2 separate regions of the Homo sapiens genome follow, and region 1 is linked to region 2. The links are contacts of gene promoters, found by promoter capture Hi-C in human tissues and cell types (Jung and others, 2019). All regions are on one chromosome and are shown on one strand. Each heading gives the region's core, a stretch centred on a gene start or on the middle of the fragment in contact. The rest is flanking DNA. Distances are from core to core; before and after follow the strand shown.

Region 1 (6,779 bases), core at 11-2,510, 1.5 Mb after region 2:
ATACCAAATCATGCCGTACAGACAGAGGAAAGTGGTGAAAGCCTGGAAGAGAAAAACAAATGATGCTGCACAAAAAAGTTCAATTTCCCAGAACTTCAGGGTTTCAGTGGGAATCAATGCAGGACCGTTCAATGCATTTCTGCCGTCTGGACGCCGGTTACAAAACGGCTGGACGTGGCAGAGATCAGACCTCAAGGGGAGGGTGCACACCCAAAGCTTCTGACAACAAAGGTTATGATGAGACCACAGTTACTACCTGTGACTCTACTATCAGAAAGCAAGAAAGACAATTTTCAGATGTGCAATATGGTGGGATGCATTTTCTTGATAGCTTTGCGGGTTCTGTTGAAGAAGATAGAGAGGATTCTATGTTCTAGTTCTGATTTTCAGGGTCCATTCTCTCCCGGCTTCCCCATCACAGGAGAGCGCTAAGAGGACTCAGTGTGTCAGCTTCTAGGGGGAAGAGGTCACAGCGGCACCTGAGGGCCCACGGACAAACACTCCCAGGGTAGAGGGTGGGGAGCTTAGCTGGACAGGGCTGCCCTTGCTTTTCCAGGCTTTTGAGTGGACCCCAGTTTTTATTGCTTTGTTTTTCTTGGTTATATGGATAGGAAAACAAAGAGAAAATAAAGATGCTCTTAAGGCCCTGAGTGGAATGAGGAGGGTGTGGCCTGTGGGTGCCCAGAGGCAGGGACAACCTCTACTCCACACTTGCCCCACTCACTGGGCCTGCCCCCACACCCTAAATTATACCCTAATTTAAGGAAAGAAAAGCACAGACAAGAATCCAAAGTTTCAAAACATGTCAAAAAATCAAAGCTTAGGAAAAGTCTCCAGCTGCCTGGACTGCATACCAAAGGCAGGAGGGAGGGAGGGTGAGCGGTAGAGCAGGGCCATGAATCTCCCCGGCCACACCTTCCCCACTGCAAGCAAAGCAACCAGAACAAAACAAGGCAACTGCCAGCTCCTTCCAAATTCCTCACTCTAGAAACCCATTCACATCAAGCCATCCTGGCTGTTGAGCCTCCATCTCTCCCCCTGCATTTCCTGTGGACACCTGGGCACCTGTCATTTTCCTGGACCCCTCTCATCTTGCACCAACTGTGGGGACAGCTGTGAGAGCATGGAGGGACCTTCTCAAGGAAATAATTTTAGTTCTAAGAATCATAACTTTAGATCCAAAAGGTCACCTCAGAGACCATTAATTTCATTGCCCCTCATTTTCCAGAAGAAGAATGAAAGCTCAGAGAGGTGAACATTGGAGCCGGAACTCAGATCTCTTGAAACCCCCGGATCTGGGTTTAAGGGATGGCTACTGATACAAATATTGGCTTTATGTCTATATAGCTTTATTTCTCCATCCATGTATCCATCCCTGAGAACGAAAAGCATCATGGGAACAGTGAACAGCAGCAGCTTCTCCTCTGCACAGCCACAGTCTGGTGGTAGGGCGGGAAGGCAGGGGCTGTGAATTCTCATCATGGCAGCTTGCAGTCGAGCTTTGGCCCAGTTCCTTTATCAGCGACATTTCCTGGCAGCTGCTGGATACACAGTGCCTTCTTAGTTCCAAAAAAGAAAGGAGAGCAACACTCTGGCTAGCTGTCCTCTTCCGTGCCAGTTACGTGGAAGCAGGAACAGTGGCAGCGTGGAGAGAGAGTGAGAAGCACAAGCAGCGCCACTGGTTCATTTCCTACTAAACCCACGTGCAAACTGGCATATACCTACAGGTTAGGGATTTATTAAAAAGCTCATATCCATCAAAAAATTAGGCCACGAATGAATACATTAAAACTACAAAGTGAAAATGACTTCCAACCTTTAACATACTCTAATGCTTGCCCAGATTTCTTAGATATACCAACGTTAAGTGTGCCATTTTCATGGCATGGAAAGAGTGGGAAGGACTAGAAATGATTTGCAGAGTGTAAGCCTGTGTATGCGTTAGGCCCCTTACAAAGAGCAAAACAGAACATTCTGGGTTTCACACAGCGGACTGGGGGGGTTAGGTTCCACCTCCCCAAACGAGAGGGCTGTGGGGAGGCGGGTCCCTCAACTAGACTGTCATTGCAAACTCTGACCACCAGAGGGCAGGCACGCGGGGCTCTTCCCTTCCCCAGCCCCAGGCCCAATATGACAGGCAGTGGCAGCTGCCGCTCCCTCCAGCGGCAAACAGCAGGCAAGTGGAGAACGACAGGTGCTTATCATCACAATCGTCACACAAAGGGTCTGTTGTGATTGCCAAATCTACTTCACCTGCGTACAAAGAGGCCCATTTTACACTTGTCCCAGCAAACGGAAGCCGGTAATTTACAGGTTTGCAATCACACCTGTGGAAATCTAGGCACGTACCCACTGAAAATGTCAAGGCTCAGATTTAAAATAGCAATTGCACACTTCGTTTAAAGAAAGGGCGGGGGGGCGAGAAGAAACTACGTGGGATGAGAGCCAGGCTGTCCAGGACCACGGGGCTGGCGGCAAGGAGGGCGCAGGACCCCAGCTTGGCTTCTACATTATGGTAATGAGCATTCAAATTAATGACGGCCGAGCAGACAACCACGCTCCTGGAAAAGCTTATTAACCAGCACCCGGGATCTTTGCTTCTGCATTAATCTCAAGCTCCGTGTGCGCTCTCTTACCAGGCCAGGGGAGTAATTAGGGGCTTTGCTTTTCTGAGTGGGGCAGAAGGCATGGTGTAACTTGAAGCTCTCTTATTGAATAATGTTCGCCTCTACTCCTGAGTCTGCGATCAATCTTGCTCTTTATAATAAAGGTCAGGAATATTTTAAAAAGTGCCAGGACCTTGTTTCTGTTCTTCTTTAAAGGGAGGCAGTGGAGACCCCTAATCATCCTGTCTCAGGGCCTCTTTTCGGGCGACGTCCCTCTCTCATGTCTCATCCTGTAAGTCTAATCAGAGATTCTGCCTGTCTTCAAAATCCTGCTCATCGTCCCCGGCCTGACCTCTTATTAAGGTATCCCAGCCTCAGTCAGCTCCTCTCCCAGAGGCATGTTCCCTGAGCTCTTAACCTAATCCCAGGACTCCAACTGCACCCTCCACATGGGCTCCTCCCAAGTATTTTATTTCCACCAACGACCAAATCCTTCCAGTGTTATTGACAGATTAGAATTTCCCATAAAACAGGACACTTCCACCTGTAAATTCTAAAGGTTCCTCAAACCCAAATCCCCTGAACCAAATTCACCTCCTCCTTTCAATGGGCTTCTCCTATATCCTCCAATCTGTCGCTAGCACTGGTGGCCACCCAGTGGCACCAGTTAGAACCTTTGGAGTGGCACTCAAGTCCCCTCCCAGCTACCACAAGAGGAATGGCATCCTGTTGAGCACATTCCTTAAACAACTCTCAGATCCAGCCCTTCCTCTGCATCTTCAATGCCTCTGCCTTGGTTCAGCTTCAGTTACTTGTCAACTAGGCCTGGCAGCACCTCTGACTGTACTTCTTCCCCCCAACCCATCTTCCCTCTAGACTCTCCCAGCCTCCATGGTGTTTCCCCATGAGACACAGATCAGACCACATTGTTTCCCCGCTTGAAAATTGCTGGGGCTGCAACTACAGCCGCACAAAGCCCTTCCTAAGCAGGGGACCCTGTCCTACTCTTCATCCAACTCTTCACTGTCACTCCTCAAACAGGTCACCACCTTCCTGAGCCACTGGGCACTCTCACAGCTTCCTGTCTTTGTATGTTTGCCCCCCAGCCACCTGCATGTCGCAAGTTTTTGTCTCTTGAACTCACTCCTTTATTCTCCACGAAGCTGCCGAGTGCTTCCTATGCACCAGGCACGGTGCTTGAGACAGTGGGGCCAAAAGATGACTTCAACTTATTCTCTCTGAGCAAGGAGTGCAGTGTGGAGGAGACAGATAGAAAAAAAACAAATTCCACTGCACTGGGGTTAGAACTGAGAGTTACGTACAAAGCACTACTGGTCCCAAGGAGGGAGCTATCTACTTGCCTTGGAGGTCAGAGCATATTTCATGGGGGTCATATGTTTAAGTTGGTTTTGGGGTATCAGTTTCATCATGTAGATAAGGCAGGGAAAGTCTTTCAGATCAGGCAGAGAAAACAGCGTGGGAAGGGCAAAAGAAGTCTGGAAGGATGACTTGTTTAGGTAACTACCAGCAGACAAGTGCAGCCTGAGAATAGAGTACACGTGGGCAGATGTGATGGAATGCTCCCACTATGAAGGTCCTGAACACACAAGCAGATTTCATAATTCATCTGGGAGGTTTCGTGGTGGGGAGCCTTCTTCCTTCTTGAAGTTTCTTCTTGTGTGGAGGAAGCTTCACTGCTTCCCTCCACCCCTCACTCCTTCCCTGGGGAGAAGTCACACCTTGAATGGTGACTAAGGAAGCCGGCATTTCCTGAAAAAGGTGAATTCTCACTAATGAAGATGCTACTCTGATCCCCATAACTTTCCTCTATCTTGCTTATCTCTTACTTATTTTTTAACTCAGGTGGGGAAAAAGATTGTGTTATTGTGCCCTCTCAAGCCCCCAGCCAGAGAGAATGATTCTTAGCAGGGGAAAGAGATTGAGTTCTGAATTTTGGAAGATCATTTTGACAGCAGCATGGAGAATGGATTTGGAGGGCAGAATGGCAAGAAAATGGGTGTCCTGACAGCCGCAGAGGCAGTGGGAATGGAGAGGAGATGGAGTTGAGCTGCATTGTCAAATTAACAGATCTTAGTGACTGGCTGATTCGAAGAGTGATGGAGGACAGGAAGCAGCCTCCAGGTTTTTAGCTGGGGCCTGGGGGGCTGGGGGAAAGCCAGCGGTTCACTGCAACCCTTAAAAATCCTGCTCACATATCACTAAGGAGCCTTCACCAACCCCCAGCATGTCTGTTGCTCTAAGTATCCTTTAGCCTTATGCACACAATCTTTTACAGTATTTATCACATATTAACATAATTAGTTTGCATGTCTAATTGCCATCTGAACTCAGAGATCCTTGGAGGGCAGTGATGAAGAGCAGTTCCCTAGAGAGAATGTCTGGGTTTGAGTCCTGGTTCTGCCACTTAACTACCTATGTGACCTTGGGCAAGTTAGTGAACTTCTTTGTGCCTTTGTTTCCTCATCTGTAAAAGAGGGATAATAAAATACCTTCCCTCAAAGTGTGAAGATCAAATGTGGAATTCATGACAGTGCTTAGAATGGTCTCTGGCACATAGTAGGCACCAGTAAATCTTATCACCGTCATCTATCTGTGTGGCTAGAGCCCCAGGCACAGCACGGAAGAGCACTCAGCAACTGTCTGTGAATGAAGCCCGGACTAAGAGGTCTGTACCAAGTGAAGCAGAGGTCAATGGGAGCATAAGAAATGGTGCATGTCCTCAATAAGTTACAATCACATAGATACAAAGGCTAACCCACAAAAGGAGATATATTCTAAGTGTCAAATAAGTAACAGAAAGTCTCTCTAAAACTTAAAGAGAAATTAGAGGGGTCCCTACAGTCTGAGTGACTGCTATGGTTTGAATGTCCTTGCCAAAACTCTCCTCGAAACTTAACTGCCAACTTAACAGTATTAGGAGGTGGGGCCTTTAAGAGGTGATAGGTCATGAGGGCAAAGCCCTCATGAATGGATTCAGGCTGTTATCTTGGGAGTGGGTTCCTGATAAAAAGGATGAGTTTGGCACTTCCCTCTCTGTCTGGTGCACTTGTTTCTGCCTTCTGCCCTTCCACCATGGGATGACCTCACTGGATGCCATTGCCATACTTTTGGACTTCCCAACCTCCAAAACTGTGAGCAGAATAAACTTATTTTCTTTTGAAATTACCCAGTCTGCAGTATTCTGTTATAGCAACAGAAAATGGACTAAGACAGAAAATCGGTACCAAAAAGTGGGGTGGTTACTATAACAAATACTTGAAAATATGGAAGCAGCTTTTGAACTGGCTAATGGGTAGAGGCTGAAAGAATTTGGAGGAGCAGGCTAGAAAAAGCCTGTATTGCTGTAAAGGGAGCATTACGGGTGATCCTGGTGAGGGCTCAGAAGAAAAGAGGGAAAGCCTCAGTCTTCTTAGAGATTACTTAAGCGTTCCCGACCAGAATGCTGGTAGCAATATGAACAGTCAAGGCCACTCTGATGAGGTCTCAAATGGAAATGAGGAGCAAGGATTGGAAAGTGGAGTAAAGGGCATCCTTGTCACACAGTAGCAAAGACCTTGGCTGAATTGTGTCCATGCCTGAAGGCTTTCTAGAGTGTGCAGCCTGAGGGCAATGAACTAGGATATCTGGTGGAAGACAGCCAAGCAGCAAAGCATTCGGGCTACTGTGTGGCTACTTCTGACTGCATACAATGAGATTCCAGAGGAAGGAAATGACTTAAAGACAATTTAAAATTAAAAGGGAAGCAGAATGGAATAATCTGGAAAATTCAAAGCCTGGCCATGTAAACAGTGAAAAAGCATATTCCAAACACTAAGGGTGGGGCCACGTGGCTGTTAAAGAGATTACCATGGAAAGAAAGAAACCAGGTGCTATTCATCAAGAAAATGTGAGGAAGATCCCTGAAAGCAAAAGCGTTTCAGAGATCTTCAAGGCTGCCCCTCCCATCACAGACCCAGAGCTCTAAGAGGGCAGAATGGTTTTCGGTTACAGGCCTGGGGAGCCCTCCACGGGCTCACTGACCAGGGCTACCTAGGGACTCTACTCCCACATTCTAGCAGAGTGCTCCTTGGCTGCCTTAGCTGTGGCTCAAGTGGGCCTTGGTGTGGCTTGGGCTACCACTCTGGGAGGGATAAGCTATAACCCATGGTGGTG
Region 2 (6,759 bases), core at 2,169-4,668:
GGGTTGTTTTAAGCCACTATGTTTGTGAAATTTGTTATAGCAGCAATAGGCAACTAATACAACAACATAAAATAACTACAGGGTATCCCCATGGGCAGTGAGCCCCACTTTCCATAAGTAGATAAAGGTTCCTCTGACAGTACTTTTAGAATAACTTTCCAAAAATGTTAGCTGATCCACCTGCTCAGCCGCTGATTTTTACATGCAGGTATTTTGTGAAATTTTCCATTTCAATTGACTCACTTTGAGTACTTTACACCCTTCACACACTGTTGGATAAATTCACATTAATTATTTCATTTAACCCTTACAACAACCCTATGACATAGTATCACGCCCATTTGACAGATGATATAAACCAAGGCTCAGACAATAATAGTAAGTATAGCTAACAAATATTGAGCATTTATTCTGAGCTAGGCACTGAACACCTGTTAACTAATTTAATTCTCCCAAAAAATCCAGTCTTCATTTACAGATGAAGAAACAGATGTCAGGCACAGAGAGTCTAAGTAACTTTCCAAAATCTTTGCAGGTATGAGGGGCTAGAACTGCAACCCAGGTCTTTCGGGTGCCAAGAGCAGTGTGCTTTGGGTTGTACCCCAACTCCATCTCATCCATGTCAAAGCCACTGTCATAGTCATTAACACCAATTACTGGCAACAGCCCAGCCCTGCCATTCCATCTGAGCCCCCTTCAGGCAGTATTGGCTGTCTGCCGAGCCACATGGCAGGGTTCAAGGATGGCCTCATGGGCTGAAGCTCCAAGTGGCAAGTGGCCCCTTGGAAGGACCTCCCTGGCACCATTCACTAGCAACAGCAATGACATTCCCCATTCTCCCCTTGGCATATGCTCAGCCTCCCTCTTTCCCTGGCCCTCCTGAGTTATCTTGCCATATGCTTTAAACAGGGGAGTCCTCCATAGCTTCCCTAGAAGACGGGGAATCCCTGGAAGGGACGCTCCTGCAGGTGCTACAGATCAGAGGGCAGTGAGTGCCAGGGGCAGCACTAGAGGCTCTCTGCCAACTTGACTGGTCTTAAACCACTCACCTCTCCTACTGCTTGCCCAGCCTCATACCCAACACCTTGCTCAGGCCAGCGTTAGACCTGTCACACCCTCTTCGGCCTGCTTTTCCTGAGGCCTAAGCCGGTCTCTCCCCCTTTTAGTCTCCCCACCTCACTCCTTGCCCTCTCTTAGGTGCCAGTCAGAACTGTTTCTAAATAAACTGTAGAATTATTTTTCCAGAACCTCCAATGGCTCTCTTATTTCAAAGAGCAAACATCTCTCCTTTTCTTTAAATCTCAGGCCACACTTTTAACTACCTTTTGCTAAACAAGGACATATGGCACTCGCTGATAAGAGCTTAGGGCATGACAGCTGCTCGAGGGTGTTTCAGATTTGGACTCTGCTCTGACACCTCCAACAAGCAAGCTTAGGCCTTGGTGGCCCTGGGTTGCCTGGGAACAAGAAACCCCAGAGCCCCGATTTATAGAAGACAGTGTCCTGGTAACTCGGGGGCCTGAGATTGAATTCTATTGGCAGAAATAAAAGTAAAAAGTGTGGACAGATAGGAAAATGCAAGGTGAAGAGCCATAAGTATCTCATTCTCCACAGAGGATTCTAAGTGCCAAGTTTCAGGGACTGAGAGGAAACATTCCAGGTCATAAACCCATGTTGGTATTTTGACATGGTTTTATGAGGTTGGCCCTTTGGGAGCAAGCAGGGAGAACTGCGCCCGTGTGGACTCCTGCATGGAACTACCAGTTGCATACACGTGGCTTATCTGCCACCCTCACGTACCCATGGAGAGCCTCTCTTTCTGAACTGGGGAAGAGGTACATTCACTGCTCATAGCAGCTCCTTGCTATTTCTGCAAAGACAAGCCATGGAACTCACCTAATCTTAGAATGCTCCTGGAAATGTTCTAAGGACTTTACTTGCCATATCTTTTTTTTTTTCTTTTGAGACGGAGTTTAGCTCTTGTTGCCCAGGCTGGAGTGCAATGGCACCATCTCCGCTCACTGCAATCTCTGCCTCCTGGGTTCAACCGATTCTCCTGCCTCAACCTCCCGAGTAGCTGGGATTACAGGCATGCGCCACCAAGTCCGGCTAATTTTGTATTTTTAGTAGAGACGGGGTTTCTCCATGTTGGTCAGGCTGGTCTCGAACTCCCGACCTCAGGTGATCCGCCCGCCCCGGCTTCCCAAAGTGCTGGGATGACAGCCCTGAGCCACCGTGCCCGGCCGCCATATCTCATTTAATCCTCACAGTTCTGTGGGTATTACCATCCTCATTAGACAGATGAGGAAACTGAGGCATACTTGGGTACCTTCAAGTTATCAACCCTGTAAACTTCACAGCTGGGGTTGAAACCCAAGCAGGCTGACCCCAGTCTCTGCTCTCGACCACGGGTCCCTGAAGTCTCTTGACTGCCCCATTCCTTAAAGGCCGATTTTAAGTGTGCTTGGTGCAGATGCATTGTGGCTTCCTGATTTATGACAAATTGAAACTTGGTCAATTGGGTTTGTTCAGGGTGGGCGCGAGTGTCCCTGAGGAGAGCACTTTCCTGTGCCCCCAGTCCTGGAGACCCTACCAGGGACAGTCCCCATTTCTCTGTCCTCTCCCCAAACGGCTCCAAATTGTTCTGGGGTTTCTAGCAACTACCACAAAATGCCTTCCCCTTTCTCTCCCTCTTCCACAATATAGGGAAGCTGGAGGTTTAGCTGCCATAGAGACCCAAGAACAAAATCCAGATGACACGGGCATGAAAATACCAGGTTCCGAAGAGGGAAGGGGGAGCCATCGGCTGTCCGTGGAATAGGAATCACCCTGCATACCCGCTCAACAGGTCTCCCTTTCCCTGGGTCGCGGTGGCCGGGGTCTGGGCGTCCCCGCTGCGTGCCACAGCGCCCCCACGGGGCACTCCGGGGCGGCTGCAGCGCGGCTTGTCCTGCGCAGGGAGCGCGCCCAGCTCTCCCGGCCGAGGGGTCGGGCAGCGCCGCCCTCCCTCTCCCCCTGTCCTCGGAGGGGTCGAAGGCGCCGGGGCCCCGGGGCGCTGGGGGCTGCAGTGCGGGCCTGGGGAGGGCGCCTGCGCGTCGGGCAGCCCAGGCTCGGTATTCTGTCGGTGGGTCGGTCCGCCTGCACTTCGAGGCCGCCCGGCCGCGCAGAGCCGGGGGAAAGCGCGCCGCGCTCACCTGCAGCCGCCGGCGCCTGGGAAGCGAGGCAGGGGCGCAGCCACCCGGGTCTTCCTCGTCGGCCTCTTCGCCTCGCCGAGGGCCGCGGCTCTCCTCGGGGATCGCTCGTGGGAGGCGAGGACGGAGCCCCAGCTTCTGCCTCTGCCTCTGTCTCCGCCGCCGCCGCTTGCTCCAAGTCCCATCCCAGAGCGCTCCCTTCGCTCGCTGGCTGCCTGGGAGGCGCTGGGCAAGGGCGGGCGGCTGGGGAGGCGGTGCCGCGGCGGGGGTGGGGAGCGGGCCGGGCGGAAGGAGGGGTGTCCTCTTTGGGGATGGGGAAGGCGCGGAGAGGGAGCGGCGGCGAGGGCGGCCCCACCCTGTGGGCAGCCCCGGGAGCTGGGCACTCTGGCGGCGCGCCCTGCCTGCTGCCACCTGGCTCCACTCCGTCCGTGCCTGAGCCCAGGCGGGCATCAGACTCCAGGGGTCCGGAGCCGCAGGCACGGAACACAGGCAGCTTTAGGGGCCTGTCGGGTTGGGAGTGCGGGGAGGGGTCTTCTGGGGGAAAGGAGACATGGCAGGAATCTTACATCTAGAACTTGGGGTCATGACCTGCGGGACGCACCCACTGACGCGGGGATGGAGAAAAAAGTGGTGAGAATTGGGCTAATTGATGACAAGCGCCAAGAGCTGTCTTGCCAGTGCCCAGAGCACCCCACCAGTGCCAGTTCATATTAACAGAGCGTCCACTGGCTGGGGACCAGGCCCCGGGATGGGGAGGAGGTAAAGATGCCAGGATGGAGAGGAGACAAAATTCCTACCCCGAGGGAGCAGGGAAAGTCTAGTTCAGACAAGACTTTTGAAATTATGAGCAGAGACATTTGCAACTTTGCAGAATGGAGGAACCTCACCTTGGATGTCCCCATGGAGCCTTGGAGGGATGCAGAAGACAGGATTGGCCAGCGACAGTCAAAGTGGCCGGCACCCCCCTCTACCAGCTCCCCAGTTCCTGGAGGCTGGGGTGAGTGGATGTATAACAGACCAGGACATCTCCTATAAAGCTCCAAAATTCTGTTCCCAAACCACTAGCCAACGCACCCAGTTCAGGTTTTGTGTTTTTGTTTGTTTGTTTGTTTTTTGAGACGGAGTCGCCCAGGCTGGAGTGCAGTGGCGCAATCTTGGCTTACTGCAAGCTCTGCCTCCCGGATTCACGCCATTCTCCTGCCTCAGAGTAGCTGGGACTACAGGCTCCCGCCACCACGGCCGGCTAATTTTTTTTGTATTTTCAGTAGAGACGGGGTTTCACCGTGTTAGCCAGGATGGTGTCGATCTCCTGACCTCGTGATCCGCCCGCCTCGGCCTCCCAAAGTGCTGGGATTACAGGCGTGAGCCACTGCGCCCGGCCCCAGTTCAGGTTTTAACAAGCTACCAGCAGAGGCAGCAGCACTAACTAGTTTCAAAACCTCTGGATGTGCCACAGTCTGATAATTTGGTGCTTTGGGCGGACTTTGTTTTGTAATTAACCATCATTCCTATTTGATGATAGAGTTGATTTCTGAAATATGAATAAACGCCAAAATCAATTCTTCAGAAAAGCTCCAGGAGGGGTAATTAAAATTCCAGCCATGAAGCAAGGGGTTAACATACTCGAGCCATCAGGCAAGTCAATGATACCTTAATACCAAGAAAGAATTGTGGATTCCTGTTCCTTTACCCAGTACCTTAGGCCCACTGGGCACTCTTGGCTGCCTGCACTGATCACAAATAGTTTTTTTGTTATGTCTTTGGGAGGAGGTAGGTGGAGGTCAGAAAGCAGAGGAAAGTCTTCAGGAAATGTTTGGTCTCTGAAGTCTTGGATCCCATAGAAGAAAATTCTTCCTGAGTCTGGGCCAGTGAAAATCCCCTAGGAACTTGGGAAGTTGAGCTACAGTTTATGGAAACTTAAATTTAAAATGTGTTGACTTATTCCAAGACACCAGTGTGATCCAGTAATTTACCAGGAAAACAATAACAATCCCCAAACCCTTCCAAATTGTAAGGAAATTGTAATTTAGTAACTGATTCCAGTGACTCTGGTGTATGCCAATTAAAATGGGTGTTTTCCCCCCAGGGAGTTCTATTGGAATTCTTCAGAATAGTTAATCTATGTACAAATTACACTTGGGGCCAAGTCAAATAGGTTAAATGAGTTGTTCTACCTTGTGGGATGATCTTCAGGTCTGCCAGAAAAAAATGAAGGAAAAGCAAGTTCAATGTCCTGAAATATAAAGGCAGAACAAACAATGAAATGATTTCTGGGTTACCTTCAGGATGAATTGCAAGTTGATAATTAAGACTATAGATTAGGAAAAGGCCAAAATTGCCTTTTCTGCTAGAGGTCCTGCCATGTGCTAGATGTACAGAGAACCTTATTCAGAAGTGTGGGTTTAAGATTTTTAGTTCTGGGACTGGGCGATGGCTCACACCTGTAATCCCAGCACTTTGGGAGGCTGAGGCGAACTGATCACTTGAGGTCAGGAGTTCTAGACCAGCCTGGTCAACATGGTGAAACCCCGTCTCTACTAAAAATACAAAAGGTAGCCGGGTGTGGTAGTGGGCGCCTATAATCCCAGCTACTCAGGAGGCTATAATCCCAGCAACTCAGGAGAATCGCTTGAACCTGGGAGGCGGAGGTTGCAGTGAGCTGAGATTGTGCCACTGCACTCCAGCCTGGGCAACAAAACTAGAGTCCATCTCAAAAAATAAAAATTAAGAATAATAATAATAATAATAATACAAAAATTATCTGGGTGTAGTGGCATACGCCTGTAATCTCAGCTACTCGGGAGCCTGAGGCTGGAGAATCACTTAAACATGGGAGGCAGAAGTCGCAATGAGCCGAGGTTGCACCACTGCACTCCAGACTGGGTGACAGAGTGAGACTCTGTCCCAGAAAGAAAAAAAACAGATTTTCAGTTCTTATGTGGGCACTCATGTAAGCAGACAAAAATGAGGTATGTATTATCTGAGAACTCCTAAGAGCTCACAAGTTAACTGGAATTGGTATCTGTTTAAACTAATCACAACCTGAGTAGCTATACTTGGGATCAACTCTCAGTTCTCGATCTCCACGTAGTCTATTGTGGAGTAAGGATTTGGGTCAGGAGAGTCATTTGACCCAGGCCTCACACTCGTGAACAGCCTCGAATATAGACTTTAAACATAAGCATCCCTTTGCTCCTTGTAAACATTAGAACTTTTTGTTTTGCATTAGAATCCTTCTTACTTGAGACCTAGCTATCTGGCCTAGAGGGCAGATTGAAATGAGACTGTCAAATCCAAAGGGGACCAGAGTACAGTATAAGGAAACTGAAGAAGAAACAGGTTGCCTCACGGACCTATAAACCTAAAATAAAGCTCTACTGAATGCATGAGGAGACATGTAAAATTGCAATGTCATCTCACGTGCACTGTTTCCCTAGGTGACAGACAGTGTTTGAGTCCTATGTAAACTATTAGAGCTCCTCCCTGTCTCCCTCAAGTAGAAGGCCAGGAGAGGAAACATCTTCATATCCGGCCAGCTGCCCATTTGTTGGAGCTGGAGATGCAGGGT

Evidence for each region. The method cuts DNA at HindIII sites, captures the fragments that hold promoters and counts their contacts. A contact is called where the count stands out against the background at its distance.
Region 1: a fragment that was not itself captured here is called in contact with the fragment with the promoter of MATN2 in region 2 in 1 of the 25 tissues and cell types used here (dorsolateral prefrontal cortex).

What each region holds. Positions count from the first base shown.
Region 1 is chr8:96,323,476-96,330,254 of GRCh38, reverse strand. PTDSS1 (phosphatidylserine synthase 1) reads right to left here. Exons shown (of 13, transcript NM_014754.3): 11 at 1-42. Among named protein-coding and RNA genes, the nearest start is that of PTDSS1, 65 kb to the right of the region's middle. RefSeq lists enhancers at 1,903-2,438, 2,439-2,974. The HindIII fragment of the contact is 4,346 bases long and covers 1-3,433 here.
Region 2 is chr8:97,865,723-97,872,481 of GRCh38, reverse strand. It overlaps MATN2 (matrilin 2), which reads right to left and starts at 3,418. Exons shown (of 19, transcript NM_002380.5): 1 at 3,195-3,418. RefSeq lists an enhancer at 3,818-4,317. The HindIII fragment of the contact is 19,586 bases long and covers 1-6,759 here.